Linked DNA regions of Homo sapiens: all the other regions are linked to region 4. Evidence: promoter capture Hi-C in 16 types of primary human blood cells and fetal thymus (Javierre and others, 2016). All regions are on one chromosome and are shown on one strand. Each heading gives the region's core, a stretch centred on a gene start or on the middle of the fragment in contact. The rest is flanking DNA. Distances are from core to core; before and after follow the strand shown. Region 1 overlaps UBR4 (ubiquitin protein ligase E3 component n-recognin 4). Region 2 overlaps UBR4 (ubiquitin protein ligase E3 component n-recognin 4). Region 3 overlaps PAX7 (paired box 7). Region 4 holds the start of ALDH4A1 (aldehyde dehydrogenase 4 family member A1).

The links. Contacts are between HindIII fragments. The CHiCAGO score rates a contact against its expected background, and 5 or more counts as called.
Region 1: a fragment that was not itself captured here is called in contact with the fragment with the promoter of ALDH4A1 in region 4 in 2 of 17 cell types (fetal thymus and activated CD4 T cells); the score reaches 7.1 in fetal thymus.
Region 2: a fragment that was not itself captured here is called in contact with the fragment with the promoter of ALDH4A1 in region 4 in 16 of 17 cell types (endothelial precursors, naive CD4 T cells, fetal thymus and 13 more); the score reaches 17.2 in endothelial precursors.
Region 3: a contact is called between a fragment that was not itself captured here and the fragment with the promoter of ALDH4A1 in region 4, in 1 of 17 cell types (fetal thymus). The highest score is 6.9, in fetal thymus.

The regions. Positions count from the first base shown.
Region 1 is chr1:19,149,273-19,152,008 of GRCh38, forward strand. It overlaps UBR4 (ubiquitin protein ligase E3 component n-recognin 4), which reads right to left. Exons shown (of 106, transcript NM_020765.3): 48 at 2,371-2,587; 49 at 1,305-1,521. Among named protein-coding and RNA genes, the nearest start is that of UBR4, 60 kb to the right of the region's middle. The HindIII fragment of the contact is 4,359 bases long and covers 1-2,736 here.
Region 2 is chr1:19,094,609-19,097,366 of GRCh38, forward strand. It overlaps UBR4 (ubiquitin protein ligase E3 component n-recognin 4), which reads right to left. Exons shown (of 106, transcript NM_020765.3): 91 at 2,585-2,672; 92 at 1,915-2,042; 93 at 937-1,044; 94 at 298-417. Among named protein-coding and RNA genes, the nearest start is that of UBR4, 110 kb to the right of the region's middle. The HindIII fragment of the contact is 5,286 bases long and covers 1-2,758 here.
Region 3 is chr1:18,658,730-18,661,571 of GRCh38, forward strand. All of the region lies in intron 4 of PAX7 (paired box 7), which reads left to right. Among named protein-coding and RNA genes, the nearest start is that of PAX7, 29 kb to the left of the region's middle. The HindIII fragment of the contact is 3,395 bases long and covers 1-2,842 here.
Region 4 is chr1:18,901,208-18,904,074 of GRCh38, forward strand. ALDH4A1 (aldehyde dehydrogenase 4 family member A1) reads right to left here and starts at 1,348. Exons shown (of 15, transcript NM_003748.4): 1 at 1,255-1,348. The coding sequence starts at 1,316. LOC124903866 (a long non-coding RNA gene) reads left to right here and starts at 906. Exons shown (of 2, transcript XR_007065519.1): 1 at 906-1,045; 2 at 1,603-2,164. RefSeq lists a silencer at 1,115-1,334 and enhancers at 1,415-1,644, 1,584-2,401. The HindIII fragment of the contact is 9,883 bases long and covers 1-1,644 here.

The DNA of each region.
Region 1 (2,736 bases), core at 189-2,688, 250 kb after region 4:
AGTAAAAAGAACAACATCCTGACAGCTGAAGCTCTGGACAGAGAAAGAAAAGTATTCAGAAGGTAACTGGAAAGAAAGGGGTTAAGGGGTAGAGGAAGGCAATAAAGAACTAGGGAAGAGGAAACTGAGGCATAAAACAAATTTGGATAGAACGAGCTCTCTAGTGGGTTATCAGATGGTAGGACTTTGCTGTTAATCCCTCTACCCCAAACCCCCTTTTCATCCACTTAGAAAGGGAGCAGAGAGGACTAGGGTAAGGAAGAGAGAGTTGAGAGAGTGTCCGACATGGCCAACACCAAGAGTGCACTTACGATCTTCCATATACTCCATTTTTACACATGGACAGCTCTGTAGCCATGCAATGACCAGAACAGAAAGAAGCAGGAAGACTCTTCAACAGAAGCAGAATCAATGCAAAGCCACACCATTGGTTACACGGCTCTCTGACACACACTCACTCGTGCAGAGAAAAGAAAGAGGGCATACTAACCGGTCCAGCTTGGTTAGGGACTCAGTTTCAGAACTTGGGGGAGAAGCAAAGAAAAAAAAAAAAGGAAAAAAATGTGAAGCTCAGAGAAACCCGGAAACACATCCTAAGCAAACCATGTATGGATAGGGCATCGGGGAAAAAGAAAGAGAAAGGAAGGGAGGGAGGAGGCTGGTGGTGGGAGGCAGTGATTCCAAGCAAGGCTATTCTTGTGACTTACAATGTAAGAAACTCAAAATCTTACATCATGAATTATAATATTTCATCTACCATGGCAAACCAGCAGCTACCTAGCACAAAGAAGCCAAGCACAATGCTTAAGAATATGCCACTGTAGGGAGACTTAAGGAAACTCTAGACTCTGCTACAAGAGGCAGCAGACAGCCTCTCTTGCTGGCAATGTTATTATCACAGAAGTAGCTACGCAGAGAAAGATGATGAAAAGATGATGAGCTCAGAATGGAAGGGAGGATGTTTTCCTATCATTTCAGCAAGCCTGGATCCTAATCTAGAATACTGGCTTGAGCATCGTCTAGCCTGTGGCCTCTGGCTACTCTAAAGGGTACCTGAGCATTATTAAGAGAAGGGACAGAACTTCTGTCCAGGGAGAGACTCTGGTGTCAGATGACTCTGAGCACATTTTTCAGGCTTTGCACGCTAAAGAGACACTGAATGTGGGCGAGTTGTATGAAAACTTAAAAAAATTCCAGGCTAGCCTTGAGATGGTTATTAGAAGCTGGCTCTCTCAAGACACAGGAAGGTTCTGCAGTGAGTGGAATATGTAAAAACTGAAGCCAACCCCTGCCAGCACTGGTACCTCTCCAGGACAGTTCCACTGGTCGTAGTGGGGGCAGCTGAGTCGCTATCTCCAGTGCCGTTGCTCTGGTTCAGATTTGAAGGGCAGATGTTGCTGACAGAGGCAGAAGGGAATTCTTCTGGGGGCTCATCAGGCCAGCCAAACTGCTCCTTAGTCTTGCCATAAATTTTTACAGCATCTATCATGGTGACACCTGCTGGATCCACCGAGGCCCCAACTGCAATAAGCAAGAGAGGCCTTTAGGAAGCACATTCTCTAAAAAGCCACCCCTCCAAAGCAAAGACCAGAACAGTTGGAGCAAAGAAGTAAATCACGTCAATTTTATAGACATAGAGAAACTTTATCTTCTGAGATATTTGCAGCACTTTAATCGTGTATATATGCTGAATACATGTGGTAAAAGTTCCATGGACCAAAAGCCGATTACGTCTCCTACTCAGAAGAGTCCCTAACCATCACTGCAAGGGTCCTCTTCTGCTTCAGAGTATTGTATCCCCTACCCCTCACTCCCAGGGGTCTCTACACACTTTCTTTGTTCAAAGTACAGATCATGATCATTCACACTAACAGCAACTATATCTAGAAGAAAGAATATCAGACAGTGGCCAATAAATGACAGAGAAATGCAGTCTTGAGTAAGGCTCAAGGATTTGTATTCTGAGAGTTTAGTTTTCAGTGGCATAGCAAGCCATTGCCAACCATCTCTCAGCCATGTGTGACCTGAGGTCTTCCTCTGTGCGTTAAGAAAGCCTTGCAATTTCATGTCAATCTGCCTCCTCTCGGCCTAAACACAGAAGTAGCCCCATTAGTGAGGTGGACACAACACTATTGAAATGAATACTCAACACAGTGCAGCCCTATCTTTACTGCTACCATGCTCCGGTGTACTCCTTTCCTGTCACCTTGCCTCTTTAATACATCAAATGAAGCTCAAAGTTTCCTGATGAAAGGACAGAAAAATCAGCAGAGTGGAGAGATCCCAGAATGTTGGACAGCCACAGGCCAGTGGCTCCCAATTTCGCAGTCACAATGAGGACAGAGTCTGCACCAGGGGTTGGTGACTCACTGAAGAGGTTCAGCTTCTTATCAGCCTGCAGGGCTTCTTCTCTGGTGAAGGGGAAGTCAAACCAGCGTGAGCGACTCAGGTTGAGCTGCATAGTTCTGCCGAAGATCTCGATATATGACGGGGCCCGTTCTATTGCTTGAGTCCCAATCTGGATCCGCATGCCTGTCATCACCATAGTGCTATTGTTGTTACTAATCTCAATGGTGAAGCCTCCGGGCTGTAGGGAGACAAGGCACACATCAAGAAACTACAGAAGTTCTTAAGTTTTAACTAGGACTCCTTCTTCTCTGACATTGTCTCAACATGTGAAGCTCATTAAAACTTATCCTTTTAACTCCCTGGTAATGACTTCCTTGTTTCTAAAAA
Region 2 (2,758 bases), core at 13-2,512, 190 kb after region 4:
ACTATGAAATGAAAGGTTGGACTAAAGCCTCTGTCTATCAACTGAGACATGCCAGGATTCCATTAACGAGCAGCTTTTGAGTGAAAGACTATCCTTAGCAATTGTGCTTGCTCTGAATCCAAAGATTTCACATTTCGATACAATTATGTCATCATTAGTTGAGTCCTAACATTCCAATGCTTAAGCAGGCTCCGCCATTCTCAGGTGGGCTAAGCCAGACACAAACAGGCCTGTTGTGGGCAATGAGACAGTGCAGGCTCTCAGTGCCTGCAGATGGAGGGGCCGAGCCCCACTCACCTTGTCCTCACTCAGGGGCTCAGCATTGGACTCATCTAGAATGATCTCCATGATGCTAAGCACCTGCTCAGCCACAGCTGCACCCCCACTGTCCTTGCTTTCTTGTTCAGCTACAAGGGCCTGTAGGAGAAGGAGACTCAGTCACTCTCAGAATAAGACCACAGCCACTAACTGCTGAGGACAATTGCTCTCAAGGATGCCCTCACAGCCTTACTCCCCAGAGACCATGTGTGTATGACCGTGTGTATGTATGTGCGTGTATATGCATGTTCTGAGAGGGAGACAAGCGTGTGAGCTTTTGATGACAGGCAGCTTTGCTGCCCCAAGGAGAGGGGCACTTCTTTCCCACTGGTGTGTAGTCTAGACTGTTTAAGGGACTGCCTTCCTCTTATCTCTGATCTGAACTCAGGAAAGGAGCAAGGAAGCTCTTGAGTGCCATGGCAGCAGCATGGGGGCAGGAGGTGAGCCAGCCAGAGGAGAAGGGCAGCTGAATGACCCAAGCCTCTGCACCAGTCAGCCAGAGAGATGAAGGGCTTGAAGAAGCCGTGAGTCCATTTCATCTGAGCCCAGAACTGAGAGGTCTTTCACACCCAGACTTCCAAGGCCCACTCTTCTTCACCTGCAGTCCATGCTCCTTACCAGGTTTAGGGTCCCCAGCATGACGTTCAAGGTGTTCATTTCCAGTTTGACCAGTTGCTGCCGGTTGACTTTCACCTTCACGCAGTAACTGAACAATTTCAGTAGCACCTGACAAGAAAAGCCAGTCAAAACCCATGAGGCCACATGAGAGTGTAGGACATGGGGGCCAGTAGGAAAGGGATGTCTAAGCAGGGTCTACACCATCAGCAGGGGCTCCTCCTGAAATGAAGAGGACAGGAGGGAGAAGCGGCTCTTCAGGGGACATGGTGAGATGGCTGGGCTCTCACATTAGGCTGGTAGCTCCAATGGCGGGATATATCTCTACCATCTCTAATACAACGGCAATGACAGCAGTTCCTAATGGAAGAGGTGATGCTCTGTTTGTTGTCTTGGGGGAAATCCCAGCATCAACTCAGACCCTAAACTAATAGTAAAGAAAATGATCCCAAAGCTCGTGGCCTGTGAGAGCTCAGAACCACATAGGTCATTTAAAACAAAGGCACAATAATAACAATAATACATATTCTCATAAACCCTGGGGGAGTGGGGGTGGGGAGTAGTGAAAATAACAGTGTAGTATTTGTGGTGCCTCTCTGGAATGCTCTAATCCTCACTAAGGAGATTAGTTGGATGAATACCCAAACAAAACCCTACAATGCAAGAAATGAGTTACATTACAAAATCCATTTTAAAAACAACAACAATGATAATAGTTAACACAAGTGCAGCTATTTGGGGAAAGACAGTCAGATGCTGGCTCTATAGAGAGGTATTGGAGAAGGGAAGTGGGCCAGCAGGACGGGAAAAGGTGTGCCTAAGAATGTAGTCCTAACTGCCAGGTCCTTCACTGGCTCGCACTGCTCCACGGCACCATGCTGCCCTCTAGGGTAAAATGACACAGTGGCCATAGCTTCTTTCCACAGGGGCCTCTCCCAGTGCAGAAAGGCTGGCCCCCACAACTTGCTGCCCCCAACTCACTGTTAGAAGGTGGCGTCCCTGCTTGAAATCTCTGATCCCTGCGAGTCTGTTAAGCATGCATTCCAGGCCCCCACACTGGGCCATCACACCAGCCATTTTATACACTTCTTCTTCATCTTCTTCTTCATCTAGGGGAGAAGGGAAGCCAAGCAGAAATGGAGGGTAAGGTGAAGATGGGAATAAAATAGGCCAGGATAAGACAGCCCTATTCCTGGCTGATGGCTGACAGCCCTTTTCCGTATCTCCAATAAAGACACGGCCAATAAAAGGGGTCAATGATGGATGATATTAAACTGTCCCACTCTCAGTAGGAGCTTTTTTAAAGTTTCAAGTCAATTAAAATTACTTACTCAAATGTCAAAGTATGAGCACCAATACCATCAATGGAGTGGGGGGAGAGGGAGTTAAAAATAAATCTGAACTCCAGTTTACTGTTCATTGCATTTTCCTCTAAAAGTTTGCTGGTATTCTTTTTTTTTTTTTTGAACACTCAGTGGTATCTGCATCATGCCACAGACACCTCTTTTTTTCCTCAATTGAAGAAACAATCTCCCCACAATTCTGATGCAGAGGTACAAGAGAGAAGCAACTGAGAATGCCCCTAAGTCCTGGGACGTGAGCCGCTCATGAGTCCCAAGCCTCAGATCCAATGTGCAGTGCCATGATCTACCTGTAGTAGAGTCCAGGGACTCAATGAACTCCTCTGTGGCATCGCCCAGCAGCCCCCGCATACGATAAACAATCCTCATGGGCTCTCCCTGAGCAGAGAAAGTTGGAGAAAGGTACTTAAAAACAGGCCCAGACAAATGCAAAGGACTCCATACTTGGTCTTGCTTAAAGCCCC
Region 3 (2,842 bases), core at 83-2,582, 240 kb before region 4:
AGGTTTGCTGGTAGAAGCCTGACCCCAAGGACACGTGGCTGGGCAAGGTTGTAGGAGAGCTGGCTGGGGTTGACATTTCATAAACATGAAGTTGCCTTGGGAGAAACCTTTCTTCATTATCAATGCTAAGGGAACCCTTGCTCAAACAAGCCAGGGTTATGCAAAACTCCAAAATTTCCTTCATTTGAGCTGGAGAGTGTGTGTGCATATGTGTGTGTGCATGCACGTATATGTGTGTGTGTACACATATGTATGTGTGTGTTGTGTGTGCATGCATGTGTAATGTGTGCATGCCTGTATGTATATGTGTGTGCATATGTATTTGTGTGCATGCATGTGACTGTGTGCACATAAGCATGTGTGTGACATGTGTGTGTATGTGTGTGTCTGTGTGTGTACTGCAGATTCACTGTCCTAGTGAGTTTTGTTCTGTGTTTTCAGCTCCTGCACCAGATTAGGACCTTCTTTGAGAGCAAGGACCAGTCAACTACATTTTATTCTGCTTTGATCTCACCTATTTAGTGCCAGTGCAATACCATATGCAGAACAGGTGCTCAATAAATGCTCCCTAACTTGAGAACTTCTCTGAGACACCTGAGCAGGAAAGGGGAGGGGGCAGCCAGGCCTCTGCTGAGAATTGAAGGCAAGGCTTTCCCTCCCCCTCCTTTCCACTTCTCTTCCTCCCTCTCTCCCAATCCCACATCTGTCTTAATTTGGGTGCTACTGAGGGGGCCTGAAAAGGGAGTGTCCCTAATGATCATGGTGTAGAGAATTCCACCCATGCCATTTACCTTCACCTTCTAAGGAGCTTCCCTGCTAGCAGGGCCAGGGAGGTCATTTGTACTCACCTTCCCTGGTGGTTTTTCCCCTGGGGAAAGAGAGAGTGGAAAGGAAAGGACCTTAGGCAAGTAGCCAGGTGGAGGGAAAACTGCTCTTGCCTGAGAGGTGGGAACCCTGCCTCTGAGTCCTGGTAGCAGGCAACTGTCCCATTTGGCCTGGGACTTTCCTGGTTTTCCCACTGAGGGTCCCACATTCCAGAAAAGCCTTCAGTCCCAGGCAGACTGGGATTGTTGCTCACCCTACCCCCTGGCGTGTAAGGATCAATCCCGTAGGTCCGTGGGGCTCAGGTACCTGTCACAAGGAACGGCCTCAACCTCCTCCCACCTTTGTTAAGGAATGGGTTGGAAGGGAAGAGTGACTGCAAAAGAATTGGGAAAAGCCCAGCGGGCCATGTGCTCGAGGACCTTACCCTTCGGCATCTGCCCCTTGCGTGGGGTGGTTGAGGGGAAGCATGGATGTAGGAGGTCGGAATTCGTCCACGTTTGTGGGTAGAATTGGAGCCCAGTGGCTGGAGCCTGGGGTGTCCTCCTTATCAACGCTCCCAAATTGGAGCCTCTGTCAGGGGAGGGGCCCCTAGGATAGGGCCAAATGGGCCTCCCATTTGGAGCTTGGCTCTTTGACTTAGACCAACTCAAGTTCGAATCCTGGCTCTGCCACTTGCTGGCTGGGAGGTTTTGGCCAAGTCATCCCCCTACCTGTGGAAGACAGGTGACACCACTCCAACCCAACTCTGCCCAGGACACAGCAGGCCTCTGACACACGCCACATTCTTCTCTTCCTTTCTGCTCTTCTCTTCCCCTAGACACCTTATTTTTTCTGGCTTAAGGACAAAATTAGGAGGGAGGAAAACGGAAAATCCAGATGCCAAGTCCTTCCAGGGAAACCAAAGTGGGGGATGATTGAGGCCTGGGAGGTGGAGGGAGGGTTGTTGTGGAGTCATCATAATTTAAGAAATCTGCCTCCCTTCCACGCCCCAAGATGAGCATTACTATTTCATGGATGATTCAAGTCTAACTTCCCCCTAGGAAGGGCTGTGACCCCTGACCCCTGCAACCTGTATTTACCACGTTCAAAAGCCCCTACTAGCCCCAGAGAGCTGACCTGAGCTGGGACCAAGGCACCAGGACTGGCAGGGCTATAAACAAGCCTGCCTCCTTGGGCTCAGGAATCCTGAGTGAAAAAACAGAAGGGGGCTCAGAGGTGGGGCCCAGTCCTGGCCTGTGAGCCAGCGGCTAAAGGGAGGGGAGAGAGGACTCACGGGGGTGGGGGACCTGGAGGATGAGTTAGGGGAGAAATGGGCACATAAGGAGCTATTTCCTCCCCTTGACCCTCGGTTTTCTTGGCTGTAAAATGGAGCAAAAGCTACTTTGCTCGTTAGGGTTTTGTAAGGCTGAAGTGAAATAGTGAGTGTAAGGGCTTCAGAGTGCTAGAGGGGAAAGTAAAAAGCACACACGCATGCTAGAGCAGGGGGCATAGAATAGGGAGGGGGCCAAAGCATGGAGGATTAGACAGTTGACACGTGGTTGTTAGATGATCAGTAAATCTCTGTTGAGAAATAAATACCCAGAGCTTGGCTGAAACAGAACAACGTGGGTCCATCCCTGCCCTCAGAGGCCCCCTTGCTTGGTGGGGTAGACAGGCAAACAGATATCCCTCCCTTCAGTGTAAGGGTTGCCATGAGGAGTAGGGGGCATAGGGGCTGTGGGAGAGTCCCGCTTTGGGGTCCATGAGGTGGAAATGAATTCGTCTTTATTTTTTCAAACTCACATTTCCTGTGCCTCTTTGCAGAAACTTTCTGATCTCTCCTCCCACCCCAAACTTGCCTTTGGTGTGTCCACGTCTCTTGGATTAGACTTTAATCCTCCTCCAGCTCCTTGATGGGCATGCAGAGGCTGAGAGGATCGAACTGGCCTTTCCCAGCACTTGCTCTGGGACTATCTGGAAGCCTGCACGCTAACTCAGCCCACTGCCCCGCCCTGTAACTGCAGACAAGAAATGACCT
Region 4 (2,867 bases), core at 98-2,597:
GCCTAGAAGAGGAACCCCTCTGTCCCATGTCCTCTTCCTGCGCCCTTTCCTATCCCCTCTTCACCCACAGAGGACACACAGCAGTGTTGCAACTCACTTGTGCTCAGAGCACCACCATGCCATCCCTTGGGGGAAGGGAGAGGGCCACTGATTAACTCAGAAAGGGCACAGCTCATCAGGAAAGACACTGCCACTAACAGCCCCAGGGGTCAAGCAAACAAACCTCAAATGGGAGGGGGGGCTGATCCACAGGTGGGCAGCCCCACCAGACTAGGAACCCCTCTGGGGCAGGGTCTGTGTCCCACCTACCTCTCCAAACCTAGCTCCGAGCTGGAGGGGCTCTGAGAATATTTGTCATTGAGTGGGCAAGGGTCCAGGCACCTGGCTCCACAATGTCAGGTTTGCAAATCGGGATTTGAAGGGCAGGTCCACCCCTGAACTGCTCCTGGGTTTCTTCATTATTTGGAATAATGACCTGCCTCACAGGAGTGAGAAGTTTAAATAGAGGTGATAATGATGATGATCGTGGCAATAATAATAACCGGGCGCTGCCTTTGTGCTGGGCACTGTTCAGTGCACTCCCCATGTATTAACTCATTTAATCCTCATAAGACACCTGCCAATTGCCCGGCCAGCATTTGGTTCATTATAAGCACTCTATAAATATGATTATTCCACCTACAAGAAGAAAGGAATCCTTTTTTCTGTCCAACATTTAACTTGAAAAAAAAAAAAAAAAACGGGCGGCGGGGTGTGTGGGGAGCGGAAAAGAGAGAGGTAGAAATCCTGGTAGAAGGAGAGGACTCGGGGAATCCGGGGCGGGATGGGGACACTGAACGTGAGACGAGGGTGGGGAAGTGAGATGTGTGGTGTGCTAAAAATAGAAGGGCCCCTCAGGGGAAGCCAGCAAATTGCGAAGATCCAGTATTAGGAGTGAGGTGAGTGACTACAGAGGCTACTTTCCGAGCGTGGGAACCGGCAGGGCCACCGAGGCACCCTACTCGGTCGCAGGATTCGGGAAGAGGGGTCCCCTCGCTAAAGGAAGGTGACTACCTGAGGGAGGAGGCTAAGGGATCTCAGTGGGAGAAAGGCCTGGGTGGGGGTCGGAGGGGAGCCCCTGAGGAACCCGGCGTTGACCGAGGCAGCTTGGGGGTCCGGCAGGGAGGGAGTGCGGCGCGGGGGACGCCCAGTGACTCTCAGGCTCCCGGGCCCCAGGCGCGCGCTCGGGCCGCCCCGGGCCCCGTGCTCACTCACCCGGCCCCGGTCCAGGGGCGGGACAGCAGGGCGCGGCGGAGCGCGGGCGCCGGCAGCAGCATCTCGGGTTAGAAGCGGGGCTGTTCGCTGGATCGTCCGCCCGGGCGCGGCGAGAATGCACAACCCCGTCCAGAGCGCACCACCTCGATCCTCGGGGGGAAACGGATCACCCCGGCTGTCCTCCGAGCTCGGGATCAGCCAAAGTCCCACTATATTTAGCTTCGGCTAATAAAAAATATTTCTAGTGCCATAACGGGGGCATTACACAACACAGGACAAGGGAACCCGAAAGCGAAGTCCTGAAATGCATGCGTTTTCCCCTCCTCTCTTTATGGTATGACCCGGGAGAGAGGGCGTGAACTCTGTCGACCAGTCAGAGTGACACACCAAAGCTTCTGAACCAATCAGCGGGGCGGTCCTGCGGCAGCCTTCCAAAGCGGAGCAGAGAGGGGCTGAATAGAGCCAATGAGATAACCGAAATGGGACACGTGCTGAAGCGGGGCAGAAGGACTCGCTGCGTCCGGCCCTCTGGCGTGCGCCCCGGGTTCGATGGGAGTCCGACTGACTTCTCTCGGGCTGCCGGTGGCTTGTACAAGGCTGGAAACCTGTCCGCTACCAGACTCCTCGACCCCGCAGGGCCACAGCGCGGCCAGCCCCCTGCTTCTTCCCGGGGGCTGCGGCCCCTGGAATGAGCCTGCCTTCCAGCTTCTTGGCCAGGACCCAGCCGCTCTCCACCTACCCTCCAGGCGCGGGGCCGGCCAGCTTCTTAGCTTCCTTGCAGATTACGATCAATGCAAGATAAAACCTGAGCTGGCCAACGCTTAGCTTTTCATTTAAAGCCTTTGGCCGCAAAACCAGTTGTTCCTGAGCCTTTTACCCCCAAGTAAAAATTTCAGCTTTCTTTGCAAAATGTTGTGTGCTTGGTAAACACTAGAATGCTATTTAAAACTTGGATTCTGAAGTCTTCTCTGATGACGAGGTCTCAGGGACCCAATCTATTCCTAAAGTAATGTTACGTTTCCTTACTCTCTGTTCTAATTTGTTTATATTTCTTCCAGCAGCATGAACCGCGCACCTGCTTAGGAGTCAGTTCCCATGCTGATTTTGGTTCCTCAAGCAGGGCACTAGGCAGACTACATATCCTTTCCGGGCCTCAGTTTCCTCATCTGTAAAACGGAAGTAATAGTACCCAACTCACAAAGCCCCCGTGATCTTAAGCCACTTATTTTTCTCCAGATTACACCATTTGAGGTACTTTGGGAGAATGTAAACATTTAAATGAAGAGTAGGAGAGGGAGATTACCTAAATGCCAAGTATTAGGAATGGCAAAAAGCAAATTGGAATTGGTGGCGGCTATTTGTCTTCACCTTTGGAGAAAACCCTAGACAGGTGGGCTCAGTTCACATTTGGGCAATGTTGCCCTGAACATGCCCATTGACAAGAAAAACTAGAACATTGGTTACTGTCAAATCCAGAGCCTGGGAAGGTGACCTCCTGTGGGCACGTTGGAGAGCCTGGAAAAATGGGGGCTTTGTGGTTAAAAGGACATCAGTTCCAAACCAGGCCAAGCCAGTTACTGAGCCTGTGATGTCTCATGTCCTCTCTTCCCCTT